5 separate regions of the Homo sapiens genome follow, and all the other regions are linked to region 1. Evidence: promoter capture Hi-C in 16 types of primary human blood cells and fetal thymus (Javierre and others, 2016). All regions are on one chromosome and are shown on one strand. The core of a region is centred on a gene start or on the middle of the fragment in contact, and the rest is flanking DNA. Distances in the headings are between cores, read along the strand shown.

The links. The method cuts DNA at HindIII sites, captures the fragments that hold promoters and counts their contacts. A CHiCAGO score of 5 or more calls a contact.
Region 2: a contact is called between a fragment that was not itself captured here and the fragment with the promoter of MON2 in region 1, in 3 of 17 cell types (total CD8 T cells, naive CD8 T cells and total B cells). The highest score is 7.2, in total CD8 T cells.
Region 3: a contact is called between a fragment that was not itself captured here and the fragment with the promoter of MON2 in region 1, in 1 of 17 cell types (total CD8 T cells). The highest score is 5.0, in total CD8 T cells.
Region 4: a contact is called between a fragment that was not itself captured here and the fragment with the promoter of MON2 in region 1, in 1 of 17 cell types (non-activated CD4 T cells). The highest score is 6.4, in non-activated CD4 T cells.
Region 5: a contact is called between a fragment that was not itself captured here and the fragment with the promoter of MON2 in region 1, in 1 of 17 cell types (activated CD4 T cells). The highest score is 5.2, in activated CD4 T cells.

The regions. Positions count from the first base shown.
Region 1 is chr12:62,463,967-62,468,898 of GRCh38, forward strand. It overlaps MON2 (MON2 regulator of endosome-to-Golgi trafficking), which reads left to right and starts at 2,860. Exons shown (of 35, transcript NM_015026.3): 1 at 2,860-3,352. The coding sequence starts at 3,242. RefSeq lists a silencer at 2,562-2,881 and enhancers at 2,912-3,021, 3,017-3,516. The HindIII fragment of the contact is 1,301 bases long and covers 1,611-2,911 here.
Region 2 is chr12:59,617,743-59,622,674 of GRCh38, forward strand. The region is part of intron 1 of SLC16A7 (solute carrier family 16 member 7); the gene reads left to right. Among named protein-coding and RNA genes, the nearest start is that of SLC16A7, 24 kb to the left of the region's middle. The HindIII fragment of the contact is 4,935 bases long and covers 515-4,932 here.
Region 3 is chr12:59,639,366-59,644,297 of GRCh38, forward strand. The region is part of intron 1 of SLC16A7 (solute carrier family 16 member 7); the gene reads left to right. Among named protein-coding and RNA genes, the nearest start is that of SLC16A7, 46 kb to the left of the region's middle. The HindIII fragment of the contact is 1,438 bases long and covers 1,700-3,137 here.
Region 4 is chr12:65,174,452-65,179,383 of GRCh38, forward strand. The region is part of intron 1 of LEMD3 (LEM domain containing 3); the gene reads left to right. Among named protein-coding and RNA genes, the nearest start is that of LEMD3, 7.3 kb to the left of the region's middle. The HindIII fragment of the contact is 3,785 bases long and covers 1,135-4,919 here.
Region 5 is chr12:64,792,811-64,797,742 of GRCh38, forward strand. It overlaps a transcript of TBC1D30 not described here. Among named protein-coding and RNA genes, the nearest start is that of TBC1D30, 29 kb to the right of the region's middle. The HindIII fragment of the contact is 1,420 bases long and covers 2,216-3,635 here.

The sequences.
Region 1 (4,932 bases), core at 1,610-4,109:
ACCCAGGTAGTAACCAGCAGAACTCAGATTCAAACTAGAGCTTTCCAACTTCAGAGTCTGAAGCCTAACTACCATGTAACAATGCTGTGAAAGCATTACTTATGGTAATAAATGGTTAAATTTATCAGGCATTTATTAATGTAATTTTCAATGAAGAGAGATTTGGTAGCCACGGAGGAGTTTTATACCCACACCGACATTTATAGGTATGCTACAATTTTGAAAGTATTTCTTGAGATACTTGAGAACAAAAATATGTATTTGAATATTTGGTTTTGCTATTGAAAGAGAAATTATTCAGTTTTTTGAAATGCTAACTCTTAACTTTAGCTGATTTGTTAACTTGTAGAATAAAAAATTATTTTTACCTTTGGTAACTTGCTTGGCTTTGGCATAAAGCCATGCATTGTTTCTGGGGCAGTATAATCTCTCTTGGCATATGTACATAAAAGGCTATTGTGTATTTTTTTAAAAGAAATTTACAGAATACTTGATATAAGTACTTGCTACACATTATTATTTTATTTTATTATTTTTTTTTTTGAGACAGAGTCTCACTCCCTCGCCCAGGCTGGAGTGCAGTGGTGTCATCCCCGTTCACTGCAACCTCTGTCTCCTGGGTTCAAGCAATTCTTCTGTCTCAGCCTCCCAAGTAGCTGGGACTACAGGTGCCTGTGACCACGCCTGGCTAATTTTTGTATTTTTAGTAGAGACGGGGTTCCGCCTTGTTGGTCAGGTTGGTCTCCAACGCCTGACCTCAGGTGAGCCACCCGCCTCGGCCTCCCAAATTGTTGGGATTATGGGTGTGAGCCACCGCACCCAGGTGCTACACCTTACTTTTAAAATTTGGCTTTTCAAATCATTAGAAGTATTGTTTTCAATCAATGAATTCCAATTGCATGTCCTCAACTCTGAACAGAGATGTAAAAGATTCTAACGATTTTGAGTTAATCATGCCAAAGTTACCAATAGTAAAAAATCCAAAAGAAAAGTTGGCTACATAGTGAAAGTCAGAGAATTTGATCCTATATCACTAGCCCAATTACTAAAGCATCATTTTTGGCCAGGTGTGGTGGCTCATGCCTGTAATCCCAGCACTTCGGGAGGTCGAGGTGGGTGGATCACTTGTACTCTGGAGTTCCAGATCAGCCTGGCCAACATGCTGAAACCCCATCTCTACTAAAAAGAACAACAAACAAACAAACAAAAAGGCCTGCGGTGTGGCTCACGCCTTTGTAATCCTAGCACTTTGGGAGGCCAAGGCAGGTGGATTGCCTGAGCTCAGTAGTTGGAGACCAGCCTGGGCAACACAGTGAAACCCCATCTCTACTAAAATACAAAAAATTAGCCGGGCGTGGCAGCCTACGCCTGTAGTCCCAGCTACTCGGGAGGCTGAGACAGGAGAATTGCTTGACCCTGGGAGGTGGAGGTTGCAGTGAGTGGAGATCGCGCCACTGCACTCCAGCCTGAGTGACAGAGTGAGACTCCGTCTCCACCCCCCACCCAAAAAAAGCGCCTCGTTTTTACAAGCTCCCTGAGACCTCAAGAATAATGTCTGCCATATATTCCATTTGAACTTTTTTGCTAAATTCACCAGTTTTCATACATAAAGCTTATACCATAGGAGGTGTCAAGTTTCCCAGAAGTTGTGTAATAGGCACAAATGATCAAAATTACTGCCCTAGGAGCTCTCTACTATTACCTCATCTGTCCCCTTTATCCATCCTTGCTTTGCTTCTTATCAGAAGGAAAAATAAAATAAAATTATTTAGCTTACAAAGTAGCTCTGTTACAGCCAAACAGCGCTATCCACTGACAATCTCATGGCTCACTGTCTTCCATCATGTCATAAGCTCAGCTGTCTGAAGGTGTTGGTTTCTTCATCTCTACTGTTTCTGGTTTTTCCTCCCTCATTTTCTGCTTTCTGACCAGCAGCTGCAAAATGTCTTGGGGAAAAAGTAGACCAACCTGGATCTTGGGGAAATACAGATGAAGATTTTTCTGTTTGGCTTTTGCCTCATATTTATTTGGCACTTCAGACCTGATGAAGGCTTTTATGTATCTGTGCCTTATTTGAGCCTCGAAACTCTGATTTTATAATAGAAGGGTATTCATTCAACAAGTATGTACTGATTACCTGCTATATGCCAGACACTGTTCTAGGTGCTGGAGATACACAGGAAACAAAATAAGATTTAAAAAGAGGAAGAACCGGCAGCCCAACTCGCGAAACTCTCCTTTTAGCTGGGAGCATCTGCCAGTAAAGGGGCCGGGACAGATCTCGTAGCGCCTGGTAGGTGATTGGAGGAATTTTGGCTTTTACTTTGAGTGAGATGGGAGGCCAGCGGAATGCGTGGAGCAGAGGGTAGTCTCATTTTAGAGATTAGGAAAATAAGAGGCTACCCCACAGTAAGTGCACCAGTTGCGTTTAAAGAAAAAAAATGTATATTAACAGGAGGTAGCCACTGATTTGGGGCCACTAGTCCAGAGATTCGAAATGAAGCGGGAGGAGACACGTTAAGATTAATCTACAGGGAAACAAATTATTTACACCGAAATACAATTTAACACAAACATACGCAAAGAGATATGCCAAGGAGTACTCGGGGGCTCTGTTCAGGCACTTGTTAATGAAAACGAAGCGAATCTTGACGCCTTAAACCCTGTCTAGCCTACTTGATTCCGGGGGTGGGGCTGTGGGAATCGCTGCCCACCCGGAATCCCGCCTGCCCCGAGCATGGCCAAGCCCCAGCCCCGCCCCGCCGACGGCCTGCCGCCGGGGTTGGCCGCGGCGGTGGCGGAGGCCACGGTACCCGGAAGTGCGGCTGACGTGTCCCGGCAGCGCTCGGAATTGTGGGCGACTCGGCTAATGGCGTCGGCGAGTCTTAGGGGCCTGGGGAGCTGGCGCTGAAGCTTCTTGCCAGGTTGGCTGGTGACACCCGGTGTGGCTGGGCCCCGCGGCAGCGGAGGGACCTGCCCGCCTTGTGGGTTTCTCGGCCAGAGTCGGCGGAGCCTAGCGGGACGGTGCGACTGCGGGGGGCGCCTCCGAGAAAAGCCAGAGGTGTTGCGGGGAAGCTGCTGGGGGACGCTCGAGCAGGCTCCGGGTTCGCAGCCCAGGGCCCAAGAAGCGGGCTGCTGAAGGACCAGAGACACCGGGAGGGAGCTGCCTGTGGCCCTAAGGAGCTGACCGTGCCAGAGCTTGTTTGTACCTCTCGGAAATTGGCTGGGACCTTGGAGGATCATGTCCGGCACCAGCAGCCCCGAGGCGGTGAAGAAGCTGCTGGAGAATATGCAGAGCGACTTGCGCGCCTTGTCACTGGAGTGCAAGAAGAAATTCCCACCTGTCAAAGAGGTAAGCTTCAGGTGACGTCAGGAGAAGGCACTGTGAGCATGCCTGGTCCTGTTAGACTCAGTGCTTCACCCCAGTTTCCAGTCCTAATTTTCATTCAGGCCTCACCTTTCCAGATTTGTGAGTCGGTGGGTTGTTCCACAAGGGCTTTTTATAGTTTCCACTGGAGAGGGCTGAGGCACTTTGATTTTCTCCCCTCTCCTGTCCTCCCAGTTTAGGAGTGAAGTTCATGAAGTGAGCCTATTCAGTTAATCCAGCTAGGTGTACTGTGCACTAGCCTATTCTGGCCTTTTTCTTACTTGAAACTGGCCAAACCAAAATTGAAAAACTTGTTTGTTGCTCCCCGAAACGAGTATCCACCCATCTTGTTGAAACCTGTACTCCTCACGTTTATGGCATATCACTGAATTGGAAACAATTTTCCTTCTGGTATATATCATTCAGCTTAACTCTGTATCAATCCTTTGACGTGTTAATAAACTATCCAGAGCCACCTAATTTATGAAGAATATTGAAGATCCACATAATCATGTTAAACCTTGTTATGAGCAGTACTGTAGTGGGAAGTTGGGCTTGCAGTCAGAGCGAATACACCTGAATTTAGTTCCAGCAATAAATCTTAACCTCTTTGAGCTTCGGGTTTTTTTTTCCAGCTGTAAAATAGGGTTAAAGGATGGTTTTATATTATGTATGGGAAAGATGTCAGAGCAGAAGGGTATTATTAAAGAGATCCCAGTAAATAATACATGGAAATTTAATTCTCCAAATAGTTCTTGAGGTGAAATATTTAACATTTGGTTACTATTTGCTTTTTCTCTTAAAATGCCATTTTAATTCTCTAAAAAAAAAAAACAAACAAAAAAACCCACCAAAAACAGGCCCGGCTAATTTTGTATTTTTAGTAGAAACAGGGTTTCTCCATGTTGGTCAGGCGGGTCTCGAACTCCCGACTTCAGATGATCCCCCTGCCTCGGCCTCCCAAAGTGCTGGGATTACAGGCGTGAGCCACAGCGCCCGGCTGTTTTTATTTTTATTCCTATTTAATGTAGTTTGTTTTACCTGCAATTTCATTTACTCTTTGCCCTAAAAATTCACCGAGGGATTTCATATTTACATACTTATTTAAATATATCTTTATTATTATGAAGATTATGTAATTAGAACTTGACCAATAAATTTTGGATTTTAGGCTTGTAAGGAATATTGACTTTTCTGTAAGTGCATTGGTTTTATCAGTTTTCAACAAACTCCATCTTGTATTTCTTTAATAAAGTATTACCCAGTGATGGAAACCAGATGTGCCACTTTTGGAAAGATGGCTGTTACGATATGTTTTATTTCACATAGTCAATAGTCTGTTTTGATATTGATTTTCATTTTTTTTATATCCTCTGTTGAAAGTTATAACAAGTAAATCTAAAGAATTAGGCTGTTTTAGAGAATTTTAAAGAATTAAGTTGTTTTAATTATAAGAGAAATGCTCTCATTTAGAAAATATCAAACACTATTTTGTAATTTCAACAATAATTTGTAGAACTGACTTCGCAGTTCTAATAATTCATACAAAAACTGTGGTTCCTCTA
Region 2 (4,932 bases), core at 1,732-4,231, 2.8 Mb before region 1:
AAGGTCTGGCCTAATCGACTCAAATAATTTAAATTGAACATCATTAGGCAGTAAATGTGAAATCACTATTGTTGTTTTATTATTGATAGAATCACTCTTTCTTCCCAAACTTTGGAGTTTTAATAATTAGAAAAAGCATTTGTTTTACTGACATCTTGATTTTCCTTATTTCTGTGCATTGCCACATCATAGAGGCAATTTAAATTTTTGAACTCATTTCCTGGTAAAAGCTTTTAATTACTGAAATATAGCTATATTTTACTATTGTTAACTGTGACTCAATTTTTTTGTATCCTTGAGTTTTTTTTTCCTCATAAGGGGCAAAGACATTTAGATTATATTGCAGGAATAGTGAATATTGAAATCATTTCCTGATATCTTTATCCCAAATTATCTTTCTTTTTAGAGCCATAGTATTATAGCTTATATTGCTACACTGCTTATCAGTACCATTTATATGCTTATCAGCTACACAACTCAGCATCCCTAAATCATTTTTCTCACCTTGTTCTAAAGCTTTATCCCACATACCACGTACTTAAACATTTGTTAAACCACATGGCTAGCATAAATTGCTATACTATTATAAATGTAATACTTTTTCTATCTATGTTTCCATATAATCTCATTTCATTCTTTCTAGCATGAGAGACCTGTGAAATTACAAATAACGTTCTATTCAATAATGGGGCAAAAAAGATGAGTAAAAGTCACCTGTATTCAAGAAGCATAGGAGTAAGTTTCCTAAATTTTGGCTAATGTTTGCCAATCTGCTGAAATAGCTGGAATTTTCCTTCCACAGTTTTTGCACTCACCACTGTAATTAAAATAAATATTATGGGAAACTAATTCTTGTAAAGTAGAATGCTCCCTTCCAAGTCCAAAATACATCATAGTTTGTAGTCTTAATTGTTTGTTAATCACACTCTTAAGGTGTGTGATCTTCCGTTTCCAATAGTTGTTCTGGTAATAAAGTACACATAGATATTATGATCAAGAACTTTCAAAGAGAAATGGTATCACTAGCACTATCATCCTCTTCTCCCTGCCTGAAAATCACTTTTTTTCTGAATTTTGTGGAAATCACCTATTTTCCGTAAAATATTGGCATAATAAATGATATCTTTGATAATAGAAATTATGTTTTACTTGGCAATTGGCTGCGTTTTCTATATAAAGTTTAATGCTGATATAATTTTGTGATTTTTCTGCTCCTGTATTTTCCCATTTGCAACACCTGATTATAAAGAAAATTTCCATGACTCTATTTTATTTCTCAACTATTTTAATAGCCCTAAATGTTAAATGTATCTAATGTGAGCATTTAACCTTTTAGAGTGACTTCACACTTTAACATGAACATTTTACCAAATAGTTTTTATTCGAATGAACATTTAGCCTTTACCTAATCTGATTTACAAGATTCCTTTTTGGATTTGTAGGAGTCAAACAAAGGGAAATTTACATTCCTGATTTGCAATAAAGACTTCATTTCAATTTAATATCATGCATTGTATTACACAATCTCTGTGTAAAATTGAATCGTGCAATCAAAGAATCTTGGAGGTTATTTAGCCCATTATTTTACCCAGTGAATTAATCTTACTGAATCCATGAAAAGTGATTATCCGGTTTCAATTAAAAGGTTTGCAGGCATACAGTGACCTCATCACCTTAGAAGCAGAACATTTTTCCTCATCTGGCTTCATTTGTTCATAATGTTATTTTAATATTATCTTGAGAGGGAAAATACATGTAATGTGAATTCTTTGTGTCATTTACATGTTTATAAATCTATAAATTAGAAACATTCACACCAGAAAGGCAGGTCTTTGACTTCCTGCTGACAGATTTTAAGATAATCTGTTCCTACCCACAGACCAGGTGAAGGTGGTCATGTGTACCTCACATGACATGGACTGAGTATGCCAGAGGTTATGGGCACTACAGTTGTGAGATACTGTTAACTCTGAACTGGTGGCTCTGTTGGCATGTGCAAGTGGAATAAATTGCTAGGCAAGGAGAAGAATGGGACATATGTTCTAAATAAGCAATTATAATAATGATTTACATTGATTATCTACTGTCCCAGGCACTATCTTAAACACTTTACATGTGTCACCTTTTTTAATCCATACACCTGAGATAGGGACCATTATTACTTCAGTTTTTACAGAAAACAATCCAAGGCACTGAGGCTTTAAGTGACTCACTAAAATTCACAAAGTTAGTAAATAATAGAGATGGTGTTTGAGACTAGACATTCTAACCCCAGATTCCACACGTTAGCACTTAGATGATGCTAATAGCAACTGAATTGTTCCTTATAGAGACAGAGAGGGCAGCTGCCTAACAACACTCTGCAGCTGAGTTCTGTGTTGATACTGTGTGGTTTTTTTTTTCTCCTCTTTTTCTTAAAAACTGCACTGTGTGGATTTTGCTTTTTGCAACCATTGTTCCCTGCCTATGAAAAAGGTTTGGATATTCATGTTATTCTGTTTTGCCATAGTGAAGAACTCTGAGTATTGTAGATTCATTGTTGAGATTCTAGATGCAAAGCAAAACTGATTGACTTGGGAATTACCTACTGCTTCATATAAAAACCCTTTCCTCTGAAAAAAAAATTTACAGTGAGGTATGTTTACAAAAGAGGAAGACAGCAAAAAAATTAGAATTAATTTTAAGGAAGTAGGTATCAACCAATTGACCTTGCTTGTGTGTTCAGGGCATGCAGTGGTATTTGGAAGTCATAGTATTTATTTTTGCATTTCTGTCAGCCTGGAAAGTTGATGACTAAGGCCTTTCTAGTCACTCCTGTTCTTGGTTTCGTGAAAAGAATGGTGCCTGTATTTTCATCCTCGAGACAGCAGGATAGCGTAGACATTGTGTGTCTCCACTGGAAGGAACAGAAAATAGGAAATTGGCAAAAGAAATGATTGAGAGCCTGTGTAGCAGAGGAGGAAGTAGGAGGCAAGCATTTGTGAGGAAGAGAAATCAAATGTACGATAAGAACATGGCTCAAAAGGGAAGCATATGGGAGTATTAATCAGAAACCAATAAAATTAGGCACATGAGTTCACCCACTCCAAACTGGGAGAAATATTTATAGTTTTTATTAATCACAGTAGTACTTAAAAAAATTATCCTTCACACCAATGTCCGAGCTTATGGCCTTCTATTTTCCTTAGCTATGCAAAGTTGGCCCATCAATTGTATTTTCAAGCCCAAATACAATCTTTTTTTGAGGCAGAATATATAATTAAACAGCCCACTGGACAGTTGCATTTTTAGCAGTGTTTTTAAATAACAAGTCTAAGGCAAGACTTGGTGCACTATGGTTTATCCATGGGTCTCCACCACTGTTCTCTAGACTGCTATTTTTTTGGTAAGTTAAATGCCTGCATTCATGAGCTTGAATTTCATGTTCCTCTGTTATTAGGGTTAACTCATGACTGCTCCTCACACTGATTATTGATTGTAGAAATCTGTCTCCCAATCCCTGTGAGTATTGTAGCACTGCCATGTTGTTTATAGTCTTCTTTCCTGGATAGAGCAGTCCTTGAACCCCATCCGAAAGCTGAAGTCTGACTACTGTAAAGTGATCATGGCTGTGATGATTTCTGGATTCCCTGGACTATAGGCTACCACCCATCATTCACTCTCCATCCATTGAGCAAGGATCCTTGTTTATGGTGTGGATTCTTCCTAATTATTAGTAGTCATTGTCATATGTTTCCTAATATTTAATCTGATTTGAATGCCTTACTTCTCTGTGCACCATTTAATGCCCTTCAATTTGTACCAGAATTGCCAGGCTACTAATTGTTTTCCTGTCATTCTTAGATTACAAGGAACTTCAGAGGCAAAACACTTAGATTATGTGGTATGAACATAGTTTTGTTTTGAATTTTAAGGCATACAAACATTATTTTTTAACATTTAACAATTATTAAAATATAAAGTCTTTATAAACACTTCAAGGACTTCAAATTTTATATGCTAAGAAAGTATGATTTTAAAAAATCATGTCTACGGTTTTATTTAGGTAGGGGGGTTGGGGTGGGGATGTGGGATGGTGCTGAGTAATACTTATTCATGAATTCCAGTGATGGAAATCTATCTTTGTTTTGAGGAAATTATGCATTTTAGTTATATTTACAGTATTTCCTCATATGTTTATAATTCTGTCTACTTTTTCCATTCCACCCTCCAATCACGCACACTTTTGTGGTCTCTGATTCTTCTAATTGAAGTAAATATAAAATTAATGCCTTAGTTACTGTCAACTTCTACACTCAGAGTGAAACGTGGTGTGAATGCACTGTGGGCCTCCCAAGTATTCTGCTGTGTGCTCAAAATAAGGTAAAGGTAAATTATTAAGTGAGCTAGAAAAACTATCTTTTAATGAAGGATAAGCTAACATTAGAAGTATCTATTTAATAACATGTTCAAACATTATTCTCAACCTACTTATATGTTGCTGGGCTTCTGTGTAAGCCACTGTAGTCTTTCTTCCAGGCTGAAAAAACGTAGGTTGTTGTTCCCCGAGTACTCTTGGTAATTTAAAATAGAACACAGAACTTGGTCAAACATTTCAGTCCTACATATATTGATAAAATGTTTGACTTCAATTATCTTTTATTTCATCAACGAGAATGAAGCACCTCATGAATCTTTTGTCTATTTTTCTGTGATTGTTTTATCTTCTAATTGTTTTATATGTGTTATATATTCTGTATATTCTGCATGTATTTCAGAAACCTTTCAGATTAAAGCCTTCGTTTTCATTTTCTACACAGTCTTTTTTGATATGTGATTATGAATTAGCTAAACTTATTAGCTATATTTCCATTGTGATTTTTTGTTTGTTTACTTTGTGGTTTTTTGTTTAGTACATGCTTCCCAACATCAAGGTCATAAAGATTCTATCCT
Region 3 (4,932 bases), core at 1,169-3,668, 2.8 Mb before region 1:
AGAAAACTACTGCTTCTTTTTTGTCATTCTGGTTTTTGAGACCAGATCTCACTCGGTTGCCCAGGTTAGAGTAGAGTGGTACAATCAAAGCTCACTGCAGCCCCTGACTCCGGGCTCAAGCTATCCTCCTGCCTCAGCTTCCCAAGTAGCTGGGACGAGAGATGCAAGCCACCATGCCTGGCTAATTTTTTTGTATCTTTTGTAGGGACAGGGGTCTCCCGATATTGCCCAAGTTAGTCTCAACTCCTGGGCTCAAGAGATTCTCCCATCTTGGCCTCCCAAAGTGCCAGGATTATAGGCATGAGCCAGCATACCTGGCCAACTACTGTTTATCTACACATGCACACAACCCTTCCGACACCAAATATATGATAATTTTTCCCTTGCCAACCATTCTCCAATTTTGTCTCATACTAAATGAGTGTCTTACAATTTAACTCAATTCTTATGCTAATGGCCCAGAGTTAGTGCAGACTCCACAGGTTAAGGGCTCAATCTCACAATACGTTTCCATACTTCAGATGCCAATCACATGTAGTATGTCCCCAGATCTCCCACAACTTCTGTCCAACATGGCCACAAATTGGGGATTCCAGCTCCTTACTCAGGTTCAATAATTTGTTAGAACAGCTCGCAGAACTCAAGGGAACATTTTCTTATAGTTACCAGTTTATTATAAAGGATATAACTCAGAAATAGTCACACGGAATTGGTGCACAGGACATGGTGTGGGTGGGGGTACACAGCTTTCATGTTCCCTCTAGGCATGCCACCTTCCCAGTACTTGGAGCAGCATTAACAGTTGTAACTATTTCTCAGCCACATGCCAAATTTAAATGGTTGTAAGGAAACTCAGGAATGTTGCTAGAAACAAAGAAGACATTAGGCTCAACACAATTAGTAAGCAGAACGAAAGGGAATTTGCAATTTACTCTAATGTTTTTAATATTTGACTTTTGGGGGACATTTCATGATTAGAACTTTTGTGTCCTATTTAAATTTTGGTGAATGTCCCTGTTTTATAATTTGAAATTAAATCTTGGGTTAACTTGAACTTTATGCCCCCCCAGAGAAAAAATAATTTAGAATTTCACTTTTCCAAGCATTAGGATTGTTATTTTTGCTTGTTATGAGAAATTAAATACGTGACATTCTGAAAAAGAAAGTAGTGCTTTTCCTAAAATAGTCTCGAATTCTGTCTATCCAGATAACAAGAGGATCCATGCCACCGTTTACTACTAAAACTGTTTATCATCCCATGTGTTTGCAATTGTGTAGGATTTTTTTTCAATGATTTTTTCCTTTTTTACCATTTGATTGACAGATACAATGAAAGTTTTTCACAGCCCCTATCCAAAACAAGTTCTGCCATGTATTAAAAACTGAAAATACCCATCCTTCATCTTGGAAGCCTCATAAAGAGTCTGATATTCTAAATGTATTTTCTAAAACATTAAAAAAAGAAAATATTTTGGTGTTTTGCCAAAGTTCCCTTAAGAATTTTAAAACTAATATTGTGTAGGTTTTTTAAAGAGGAACTGCATGTATGAAAAAATGACTTATGTGGTCAAATTGCATGCTTAGAAAGGTTTCTAGTTGAACAAAACACTGAAGGCAACATTTGTATAGAAAATTAAAAATATATATATTTATATGTCTATACATACATATTGTTTGAAAAATCTTATTTAACTGTTTAAGCTTTATCTATAAATTGGAGATGTGATAGCTGCCAGGAAATGATGTAGGGAGAAATGGATGAAATAGCACATACAAAGTAGTTACCTGGGTAAATCTCTATCTTATCACTAACTCTTCCATCCCAGAGGCCTCCTTTATCACACAAGCTAAAGAACCAATTTCCACCATGTCTTATTCTTATAATCCTTTTTAAATTTAATTGATACAAAGCAGTCTTTTTAATGTATTTGTATTCCCTACTAGGGCAGAGACATTGTGTGTTCATTTGCTGCCAAATTCTCCAGAGTCTATTCTTATACATGGTATGCATTCATTTATTCATTCATTCAAAAACAATTCTTACAGCCTACTTTGCTTTTGATGGGGTTACCATGCTGAATGAAAAATGAAGTTTCTGCTTTGATAGGATATAAAAATAGTTTATTTATAAGCCAATACTTTTTTGATGAGTCCAAATATATATGATAATTGTGCAATAGTTTCTAGGGCTATTTTTTTTTAGCAGGTATCAGCATAGGAAACAAAATTAGTCCGTTGTACAAAATATTGCCTTTGTAACTTTTCTAATATTTACATTGAAGGGAGCCATTTTACATGGATATTTCTAATTTGAGGAGAGTTGCTTAACATTATTGGATGTCACTGTTTCTTACATTTTCCGTTAGTGAAAGAAGGGAGCCAATTCTGATGCTCTTCTACAATCCAGGGCTTAAAGAACCATTATTCATTGTACTTTTCAATGTATGTCACTTTCTTTTTATAGAATGTCTTTGTGGCCCTTTCCTAGATGTCATTAATAAGGCAGTGTAGAGTTTGTCCTTGGTGGGAAGATGTATAATAGTGGTAATACTTCACCATTTTGGATTATCAAAACTGTATCTATGTGCCCTAAAACACTGAGTAGCATCTAGCAAACCATATGTTTTCTAATATTGCTTTATATAGTGTTACAAAAAAAGTATCAATTTAAAAAATTATAATGCTAATTCATTTCAATTTAAACACAATCTAAATTAAGTCCTTTCTTATACATTTACATTCTGGAGACAAAGTTTTTGAACTGCATAGATGATCTAACAAGTATTTCAAAATGAATTTGCTCTGTTAGCATTTCCTGTACAGATTCATTATCCTTTGTTTCCGTGCTTCATTTTGACCCTCAGGCTTGGAATTCCTTACCTATAGTCCTGTTAGCCCATTGATTCCTCCTTATCCTTTAAGAATTATTCTAACCATTCTTTTTTTCTGGAACCTATTTCTGCCCTTCATTCACCCCAGGGTGGTTAGATATCCGTTCTTAGTGTTCCCATAAAATCATGCACATATTTATTTCGCTTACCATATTTTTCATAATTATGTTTCTTCATTTGCATCTCCTACTAGATTGTGACCTTTTTGATACTCAGGATTTTATGTGTTAATCTTTGTAACTCTAAAGCTTAATGCAGTACCTGTCTTATAGATGGTGCACAGTAAATGTACATTGCATTAGTGGATGAATAAAAGTTAAGAATGAAGATGGATCTGATTCTTCATGCAGAAGATAGAGCCTCAAGGAAGGTATAGTCCAGAAGACAAAGCACAATTCAGTGATGATGACTTTTCCCACTGTGATAGTAGTCAAAGTTATAGAATGAATGGGCAATAATGAAATAAAAATTGATTGAGGAAGAACATGCAATCTAGACTAGAGAATTGACTAACCATCAATTAAGATTGTCTTTATAGAGTTCAGTTGAGATAGATTCCATAATTGTTGTGAAGAATTTGGAAATTGTACACAGAGTAAAGAATTCTGAAACTTAGTTGAAAGTAACTTGTTGAAAAACCTTATAATAATTGGGAATACAGGCACAAAGGATGTTGGAAAGTTTATTGTAGAGCCATAGATTATTGATGAGTTATCACTGCCAGCATATCCTCAGAATACATTTATGTTGTCAATTTTTAAAAGCACTTGGATAATTAATTTAGATTAATATAATTCACTTAGATTCTGTATAAAATATTGGTAAATGATATTACTTCCTTGATTTAGACTTTACTTTCTGCCACAGACTATGCTGCATACTTTCATATGCATTAACTTTAATATTTACTCCAATGTAATTATTCACATTTTACAGATGAGGAAACAGAGGGTAAGAAAGCTCAATCCAATTGTCTTGGATCATAGAACTAATAACATTTCTGACATTAAATCCATTCCATTTGAATTGAAAGTCTGTACTTACACTACTCTGCACTATGACCCCAAGAGTCTCTAATATACATATAAGTTTTCGGCACAAGTTGAAAGTGGTAAGCATATATGTCTATAAATCTAGTTGTCTCTTACATAGTTATTCATTTGTTCATTTAGTCATCAAACATTTATTGGCCCTCTAGGCACTGCTAGGTACTGCATATGTAACATATCCATATATCATCATGGAAGTTACAGTGGAAGAGACTGGCATTAGAAATATAAACAACTGTATAATGACAATTTTTGATAAATGCTATGAAGAAAACTGGAGTGCCTTTTATTAAGCAGATTACAGAGCAGGCTTCTTATGTACTTACTTCCCTGTGGGCAAATATAATTAGATTTACAATATAGCTTACTGTAATTCAAGAAGATGCTTAAAATAGCTGTAGATAAATGGGACCACACCAGTGTAATCAAGCTGAACAGTCTGAAAACGTTGGTCTTCTAGCAGTCTTTTCACAGCACAGAGGGAATTTTGGCAAACTATGTGGTATTCTTGAAGAAAATCGTGGTGTTACACTTCAATAGGTTCTGAAAATTTACCAAATGTCACATCGGTATTTCAGTTTTGGAGAGTGACTTTGAAACTATTTCATCAATGACCTACATCAGTTCACAAAAGAACATAATTATCCATGGAGATAACTCTTAGGTTACCCTTTAAAAAAGCATTATCTGTCCTGCTGCAACTCTGAGCATATGGCAGATTTTGAATCGGAAATATGGATACAGCATTTGATAAGTTTGAATATTTGGCTTAAAATATTGATAACATTTGGCATAAAATCAAAATAGTAATATAACAGGAGAATTTATTTCATTTAGAACTTAGTAAAGGTGGGTGGTCAAAATAAATAAAAAAACAAAAAAATACAAACAAAGCAAAGCAAAACTATGTGAAACTTTGCCGGATGTTAACGACAACCTAGACCCTGGCTTTAGTGCGCATCAAAAGTTATAAAGTCTTGTCCGGGCACGGT
Region 4 (4,932 bases), core at 1,777-4,276, 2.7 Mb after region 1:
CGTATGATCATTATTAATTTTTTTTTCAATTACAAAAGACATGACTTCTGCAGAAAGTTTGAATAGAGATGAAGGAAACAGTGAATGGTTATTGTATGCCTCTCTTCCTAGCCTCATGCTGCCCCCATATAAATAAGTTCAAGTATTAGATCCTTTCTGACCTTTCTTAGTATTTTTCATGTAAATACATCTCTGTGTGTGTGTGTGTATGTGTGTGTGTACAGATTTTCATTCAACAGCAGAGTGTCTACTATGTGCCCGGTATTATTTTAAGCAGCAGGGATATGTGGTGAACAATATGTTGCATATGTGGAAGATGAAATCTCTGTTACAGAGCTTACATTTCTAGGAGGGGAATGGACAAGTAAATAAGAATTTCACATAATGGTAGTTGCTAACACAAGGTATTGCTGGTAACTTTTGGGGGCTGAGGTGAAGAGATATGCAATATTACATAAAGGTAGGCAGACCTCTCTGAGGAAGGATGTTTGAACTGAGATATGAATGACTTGAGGGAACTAGCCTTTGATCAGGAGAAGAGCATTCTGGCAGAAGTATCAGCAAGTGCAGAATTCCTGAGGCAAAAACAGGCTTGTGTGTTGAAGGACCAAAAAGAATGGCCAGTGTTGCTGGGACATAATGAATGAAGGGGAAAATGGCATACCATGAAGTTAAAGGTAGGTATGGGCCAGATCATAAAGACCTAAACGCCTTGAGGGCCGTTGAAAGGAGTCAGAATTTTAAGTGATATTATAGCATACATATTCTGCAACTTGTTTTTTGTATCATGGGTAACTTTTCCATATACTAATTTTAAGTACAGAGGTATAATTTTAAAATCTCATTTTCCACTAGTCCCTTTCTCATCCTATAAAAATACTAAAATCTCTACCATTCTAAAAATGTTGCTCTTCTGTGCTCTTTTCTTCTCTAGTTGTTACTCTTCTCAAACTTTCTGCCTCTATTTTCTTCCCTGCCATTCACTCAACCCTGTCTAGTTTAGCTTTCTTTACCAGCCATTCCTCTGCTACCTCTCTTCTTCAAGTCACCAGTTACTCAATTTTCAAATCCTCATCTCTTTGGTACATTTAGTGCATTGACAACTCCCTTCTTCATGAAACTTTCTCCTTTCTAAGCTTCTGTATCACTACTCTCTCCTAGTTTTCATACTTCTGTCTGCCTGTTTTAAATATTGGTGGTCTCCACAACTTGATCTTTGGCTGTCTCCTTTTGCACACATTTCTCTAGGAAGTTTCATTCACTCTCCTTGTCATTATCTTCCAGTTTTGTATTTTTACCTTGGATTTCTCCTGAGATCTAGGTATACCTATTTGTTTACTAGACATCTTTTGGGTATACTAGAAGTATGTACCAATACCATCTGACATTTTCTTTATATTTACCTTGTTTTTGCTCCTCCTCCCTGTTTAGTTAATGGTGCTTCCATCCACCCAGACAGAGCTCAAGAGAGAAACCTTGGATTTACCTAGATTCTTTCCTTTCCCTCACCTTCCTACAAACCCCCAACCTAATTGGATACCAAGTCCTGTAGTTCTGTTTCCTCTATATCTTTTGAATCAATCTTTTTCTGTCCCTCGCCACTGTTCTAGGTTAGTCTCTTGCCTGAACTCTTTCAGTAACCTAAAATGGTGTCCCTGCTTCTAGGCTGTAGCTCTTCCAGTCCATTTGTCAGTACAGAGCAGCGTTTCTAAAGCACAAATGTGATCATTCCCTCTTGCTTAAAATTACACAATGGCTTTCTCTTAGTTATTGGCCAAAATCTAAACTCGTTGGCTAAACTGTTCATGATCTGACTATGCTTGCCCTTTCTACCAGTCTCCCTTATCACACTTACTTTCTAGAAAACTGAACTGTTTGCTGTTTTCTGAGTAAGTCATGAAATTTGTGCTTTTCTACCTTTGCACAGGTTATCCCCTTTTTTGGGAATGTTTCTTTATTTTGTAACTGTGATTCATTCTTAAACATGTCATCTCCAGATATCTCTGACTCTCCATCTTTTTACCCTAGAGTTTGGCCCATCATTTTGTGCTCAAATAAGACATTAATTGCATCCTTCATAGTATTTAGGACAAAGTATTATATTTGTGTGTCCACCATGCCAAATAGATGACAGCTCCTTTCTTTAGAGTAATATTTCTATAGGAGTAGAATACAGTGTTAAAGAGTACAAACTTTTTACTCAGTTCTGATTTTGGCTCTACTTTTTAAAGTAGACTATACTAGAGATATAATTGCCTCATACTAAAAATGAGATTGATAATACTATCTGAGGATGACTTGTATTAAGTGAGATAATGCATCTAAACTAGTGTTGTCTGGCACATGGAAATCTCTTAGTAGATGGAAGTCACATTAGTATCTTCAGCACAGATTCATTATTCAGCAAATATCTGTTGAATAAATGATCACATATCAGGTACTCAGGATATATGCACTGTTAACTGGTAGTATCTAACTCGGTAATTGGTTATCTACTTAGTATCTGGTAAGGATATATAAAAGAAATCTTATTTCTGTAGAAGCCTCCACACCACTAATAACAGTAATAGGAAATGGCTAAGAAACATACAGGATATTATGTGGTTACACACTTTTATAAAAGGGGAGAATTCACTGTAAATTCTCAAATGATCAGTCTTACATGATCAAAAGTTCTAAATTCAACATTTGGATTTTATTCTGTAGGTTGAGTAATGGCAATTCATGGAGGTTATAAAGCAGAGGACAAGCATGATCGAATTGGTCCTTTAAGAAGGATAAACAGGTGATGGTTTAGACAGTGATAGGGTTGGAGGGAAGGAGTAGGGTGATGACACCTGAAGGAGGTGGATAAGTGGGAATGGAGTTGGGCCTATGAATGAAATTCATTTGAAGAAAGACATATGGTTTTGAGTATAGAGAATAAGAGACAGATAGGAGTCAAAGATTATTCTGGCCATGAGCCTGGATGACTGAGAGAATGATAATATCATTGGAGGAATTAGAGATGTGGAAGAGGGATCTTGTTTGGGGAAAAGTGGTCTAGGGAAAATGAGTTTACTTGGGGCTTATTATTTGAGTTGTTCAAGTGAAAAATTCTTGTAGGCTCTTGTAGATACAGAATTGGAGTAAAGATGAGAGACTGGTGCTGAATGTGAGTACTAGTACTGTTTACTAAGGGAATACTTTTAAATGTTTGTTTTTTTAATGTGTTGTTGTTTTCTTTAAAATCAAGACCAGTTGTTACAAAGAAGTAACATGTTTTAATGTCATTGTCGTTTAAAAAATATTTTTACTTCTTAAAGTAGACTAGCCAAAAGGTCCCGAACTTGGTATCTAAAATGAATATGGGGAATAAGGATTTTGAAAAATAGCTGTTGCTCTCATTCTTTTTTTTTTTTTTTCAATATGAGACAGGGTCTTGCTGTGTCACCCAGGTTGGATTGCAGTGGTGTGATCATGGCTTACTGCAGCCTCAACCTCCCAGGACTCAAGCAATCCTCACAGCTCAGCCTCCTGAGTAGCTGGGACTATAGATCTGCATCACCACATCTGGCAAATTTTTTGTATTTTTTGTTGAGACAGGATCTCACTTTGTTGTCCAGGCTGGTCTTGAACTCCTGGGCTCAAGCGATCCTGTCACCTTCGCCTCCCAAAGTGCTGAGATTACAGGTGTCAGCCATAGCAGCCGGCCTATTCTCTCATTCTTGAAGAATGAAAGCTCCATGTTATGTTTGAAGTTTTACGAGTTGACTGCTTTGTAAGAAAAAAAAAAAAATCCTAGATCTATGAGAATATTCCCGTGAATGCCAGGGATTTGCATATACCAGTTTGATGATTTCAGAAATTAAAGTCTACTCTATGAAAATGTTTTTCATTTGAAAATTTTCCCTAGAATGATTTAAATTAAAAATAATGAGGAAAAACTTGTGAATCTCTACAGATATATCCACGGAGACTAGTTTGAGGATACACTGGCATAGCTATCAGAGAACCTGGGCTTCAATATTGGCCCTTCCACTTACTAGCTTTTTTTCACTAAGGCAAGTTGCTTAGCCATTGTAAACCTCAATATCCTCATATGAAAAATAGGTTAAATGAGAATGAAGTAATGTGTGTAAAGTAAAACTCATACATGGCACATAGTAATAATAATAACTAACCCTTACGTAGCATTAACTGTGTTCCAGGCACTGAGCTAAACAATTATTATTTAATCCTTATGAGGTAGGTACTTATCCCATTTTATAAGTAAATGGAGACACTGAGAAGTAACTCGCCCAGGGTCATGTAGCTAGTAAGTGAAGCGGCAGTATTTGAACTCAGACAGTGGCTCTTAACTGTTCTTCTAGATTGCCTTTTAATATGTATAAATAAGGACTTGATATATGTTCTCTACTATTATTGTCTTTATTTTCAGAAAACTGTGACAAGTATAGATTCATAAAATCCTAGAAGTGGCAGGAATAATCTATGAAACCTAACAACTTTAGGAAAAGTTGTATTCATTCAACAATTATGAATCACATGGAACTATTTATCCTTAAGGTTTTAGATTAATTAAGGGGGAGGGGGCATCTGCTATGAAGCAAACTATAATATATAATACATAGAACAATAATACAATATTAAAACTATTTCTAATTTTTAAAATATTTGCAGTCTCAAAACTGGTAGGGAAAGTGATCTTTTGATTTGTATTACCAATTACAACTTGTTCTTTCTGTTGTTCATTTTTAGGATATAAAGAACTTTTCATACATTTGATCTCCCTTTTTTGCTCCTTTTGAATAAACTTCATATTTTCCCTTTATACTCATATATGTTTTAATGGAAATGATGCATTTGATAATTTCAGGGACACTAAAATAATCATGAAAAATTATTTTCATGATTCCTAAGAGTTGGGAAGTTCTTAAAGCTTGCTTCTCC
Region 5 (4,932 bases), core at 1,676-4,175, 2.3 Mb after region 1:
TGATGCACCTGCCTTGGCCTCCCAAAGTGCTGGGATTACAGGCATGAACTACTATGCCCAGCCTAGGCTAGTTATGGAATAATCAACTAGGTTGGGGGAGAGGCTTGCTTTTTGTTTTTGATTCAAAGCTCAGCAAGGCCTTTCCATGCTCTCCCCTCCATGCCCACAGAAGTATTGTGCTTTGGCCTACTTCTAGGAGCAGGAGCAAGGCCATGGTGAGCTTTGAATAAAAAATAAAGAGCAAGCTCGCTGGGTGTGGGGTCTCACACCTGTAATCCTATTACTTTGGGAGGCTGAAGCAGGAGGGATTGCTTGAGCTTGCGAGTGGGAGACCAGCCTAGGCAACATAGTAAGACCTCATCACTAAAAAAAATAAACAAAAATTCGCTGGGCGTTGTGGCATGCATCTGTAGTCCCAGCTACTCGGGAGGCTGAGGCATGATAATCACATGAGCCTGGGAAGCAGAGGTTGCAGTGAGCTGAGATTGTGCCACTACCCTCCCACCTGGGTGACAGAGTGAGATACTGACTCAAAAAATAAAAAATAAAAATAGGCAGGGCGCAATGGCTCATGCGTGTAATCCCAGCACTTTGGGAGGCTGAGGCAAGAGGATCATGAAGTCAGGAGTTCAAGACCATCCTGGCCAACATGGTGAAACCCCGTCTCTACCAAAAATACAAAAAAAAAAAAAAAAAAGAATTAGCTGGGCGTGGTGGCACGCACCTGTAATCCCAGCTACTCTGGAGGCTGAGGCAGGAGAATTGCTTAAAACCTGGGAGGCGGAGGTTGCAATGAGCCAAGATTGCACCACTGCACTCCAGCCTGGGCAACAGAGCAAGACTCCATCTCTAAAAAACAAAAACACAAATAAAAACCACAAGTACAGATGAAAATATGGATGAGTTCTCCTGGGCATTCTGTCCTTCAGTTAGAAAGATGGTCCGGCAGCAGGAAGCCTCTTGTGTTGACTTCCCTCACACGACTGTTGATTGAGCCACGCTGCTCCACTCCCTACTGGCTGGGCTCCATCTGCATGCACTGCCATCCTGGGAGCCTCATTGTGGAGGCTTTCTTTGTCTCTCTCCTGTGGTGGATCTCTTGTATCCTGGATCTTATATTTCTTTCTTGATTATTCTTTTTATTTTGTTTCCCATATCCCCTTGAGAGAGAGTGCTTGTGAAGTAAGTTTTTGGTAACTGTGCACGGGTGAAAATGTCAAATGTCTTGATTCTAAATATATGCGCTTTGATCGACTATTCTATACTTGCTGTATTGCCTTCTCACTTGTCTTGTTGCTCTTGAGAAGGCTGAAGCCTTTCTGATGCCTGACACTTTATCCTGGACTGTTTATTTTTTTTCCCTTTAAGAGCTTGTGGACTGTTCTCCTTGTTCTTGGTGTTCCTGAAATACAACAATCATGTTGCTTGGAGTGGGTCTGTTTTCACTCAGGTCATTGTCACTGGGCCTAGACAGGCTCTTTCAATCAGGCAACTTTTGTCATTCAGTTCTGGAAATTTTCTCTGAATTATTTCTTTGTTGATTTTTCTCCCTCCTTTTTCTTTTTTCTTTTTCCTCTTTCTGGGGTTCTATTGTTTGGCTGTTGGAACTTATAGACAAGTTCTGTAATGTTCTTTCTTTTTTTTTTGAGACAGGGTCTCGTCTGTTGCCCATGTTGGAGTGCAGTGGTGCAATCGTGGCTCACTGCAGCCTTGACCTCCTGGGGCTCAGGTGATCCTCCCATGTCAGCTTCCTGAGTAGCTGGGAGGTGCACACTACCACATCTGGCTAATTTTTGTATTTTTTGTAGAGATGGGGTTTCAACCACATTGCCCAGGCTGATCTCAAACTCCTGGGCTCAATCAAGTGATCCCCCTATCTCGGCCTCCCAAAGTGCCAGGATTACAGGTGTGAGCCACTGCACCTGGCTGTAACGTTTTCTCTCTTTCTCGCTTTCCAACTCCTTGTTCTTTTGATTTATTTCCTTGGAGATTACCTCAACTTTATTTTCCAGTCCTGTTATTGAGAAATCTTTTTGGGTTGCTATTTGAATGTTTCTTTTATATGGTATCCTGTTCTTGTTTCATAGATGCAATATATTTTCTTATTGCTCTAAAGATATTATGATAGAGACTAAAACAGACAAAAGAAAACAATTTGGAAGAGATAAGATTATACAGGGAGGAAAGAAACTTTCAAAACTGTATTATATTTAGAAGCTTTCCTTAGATGTCTGGTATTCTTTGGCTGTCTGCTCATAAGTAAGTGTGGGAGTCTAAATGCTGACTTGAACTCTGGGCTCCCTGGCAGGGCTTATTGACTTTGAGCTTCATTGAAGTGCCATGTGGATGGGCCCTTTGTTGTGGAACCCCTCAGGTCAGTATCTTCAAGTCTTTCATCTGGGCTGGTCAGATTCTTCAAGGAAGAGTCTTCTGATCTCCTGCTCGAAGGGTGAAGGTCTGGCTGCTGGTATTTTGGGAGCCGAGTGGGGTGAAGAGAGCTGGGAGTCTCTGCATTCAGTATGCATATGGCCACTGAGTCCCTGTTTTAGGTAAGGTACTCACCCTCAGCTGGTTGTCCAAGGACTCTGTTATCACTCTCTTCAAAAATAAGACTCTTAAACTTTTGCAGGGGTGGGAAAGTGGTAATTGCCCAACCTTATGAAGAGAGGAACGAGGGATCCAACTACTTCTCAACAGCCTTCTCCCCATATTTCTTGTCAAGCCTCCTGGGGAACTGGTTGCCAATCCCCAAGTCTCTTGTGGACTGTGTAGTATAACATAAGTTGGATTTCAGCTTTCCTGTTAGTTTGGGATTTGGCTTTCTAGGATCCTCTGTCAATTTATGTTTGTTTGCTTTTCCAGCTTCAAAAATTCATTGCTGTTCTCCACGCTCCTTTTTTTTTTTTTTTGTCCTTCACTCTGGTCCTTGCGGGTTATGATTTAAAAATTATCTTTACAATATTTTTAGTGTGGTTTTGGTGGGGACCAAAGTTAGATGCTTTTTTTTTTCAATCTTCCGTCTTACCCAGATGTGCTTTTTCCTTTTTCATAAACTCATTTCTTTTGAGAGACAAAAATAAGTTATCATTTAGATTAGGGTAGATTTGCCTTAAATTTGGAATTTGCCTGCAAAATTGTGAATTTAATTACAAATTTGTTAATATTGATAACCGTTTTAGGTATGTTTTTGATATATAATTAGCAGCCTGGTCTACCCTGAAATAACTTAGAATATGACTAGATGAAAGAAACTGATTGAGCTTGCATACAGCATATTTTAGCAACAGTTTCTCCTCATTTTCTTTAAGCTCTTTAGCATCTTAAAGTTAAGAGTTTTTTTTTTTTTTTCATTTTGTCATAATTTACTTGTGTTTCTTATGACCTCGTTATAAAGGGGTTGATTTGTAGGAAAACTGAATCTTAGTCACGGTAATTGGGAGCTACTAGAAATTTTTAAAAAATGATCTCCATTTACCCACAACCTTTGGTTGAGCAAAGGGAAACTTGGAAAAGTTGAACTTTGCTGAAACTCACTCAGCTGGTTAGTGACTCAGGAGTTTTTTGTTTGTTTTCTCTTGTCAGTTATGGCAAGAGAAAACTATATATACAGCCAGCAGGGGGAGCTCCTTCCCTTAAGCTTACGTGAGAGAAGTATTATACTATTTATGTTCTCTGTATTGCCACAAGGGTAAGACAGCCTTTAAGACTAAAAATGATACAACATCAGATAGACACCATATGAAAGAAATAAAGGGAACTTTTGTTGGAACTACCATGTATATGTATTGTGACCATTTTTGTGTTTAGTTATATTATGAGAGAATACTTCTAGAAGTGGGGATATTTTGCAATTTATAGTTTAAAAAGAGGCATTTACATTAAACCATTTTTTAGAGACTATATCTTTCAAAAGCGTTATTCATTTAACAGATATTCTGTGTTTACTATTTCCCACACATGATTGTAGGTGCTGGGAATATGGTAACAAGCAATATATCAAGATTAAGACCTCACGATTTGAAGTTCTTTTATACGAAGTGTAAATACAAGCCTAAAAGAAATACTTTTTCCCCCAAAAGAATTGACTCTTTAATTTGGTAGGACAATCAACTGCATTTTTCCTATGTCAACAGCAAAATATAAGATGATAATATGACTTATACTGAATGCTTACTTTTAGGAATTTCACATATATCTTCAAGTATCATTCTCCTCTGCAAAAAAAAAAAAAAAAAAAAAAAAAGACTATTCCAGTGTTCTTAAGCTTTGCTGCATATTGGAATCACTTGAAAAATTTAAAAAGGCTATTAATGCCTGGCTCCCCAGCCCAGACATTCTGCTTTTACTGGCATGGAGTGTGATCTAAACATTGTGATTTTTAAGCTCCCTGGGCTATTCTAATGTGCAGAAAAGTTTGGGAACTGTTGGACTGTTTCCTAATAGTGACAGCTTCCTGAAGACAAGCTCCTTTGAATCTCTTTTCTTCCTGTTGTGTCACCTTGCACAACATATTTGACCTAGCAGTGATCAATAAACATCCAGTGCTTGGTTTCTTACTAACTCTGCTTAGAGTTTATGGTCATCAGCATAATGACTCACTTGTGTACATATTTAACTTATTTATTCCACTCTTTGTCATTTTCACCTTGCAAAACCCCAAGCCTGATTAAACTCAAGTCTCTGCACATTCTGTCTCTGCATCTACCTAGCTAACTGCAGCTGCAGAAACACATATCATGGGGACGACTCTCTTTAAATATGTGACCACCAGCCTCACAGACACCCTTGGTACAACCAGCAATCCTATGATATTTCTTTAGTCTGTTCATACTCTCTCTCTCTTTCCCTTTTTACATCCTATTTTCTCCCCTCGCTCTCAGCTGGTGATTTTTGCTGTGTATTTTAACAGAGAAAATGTAAGCAATCAAAAGC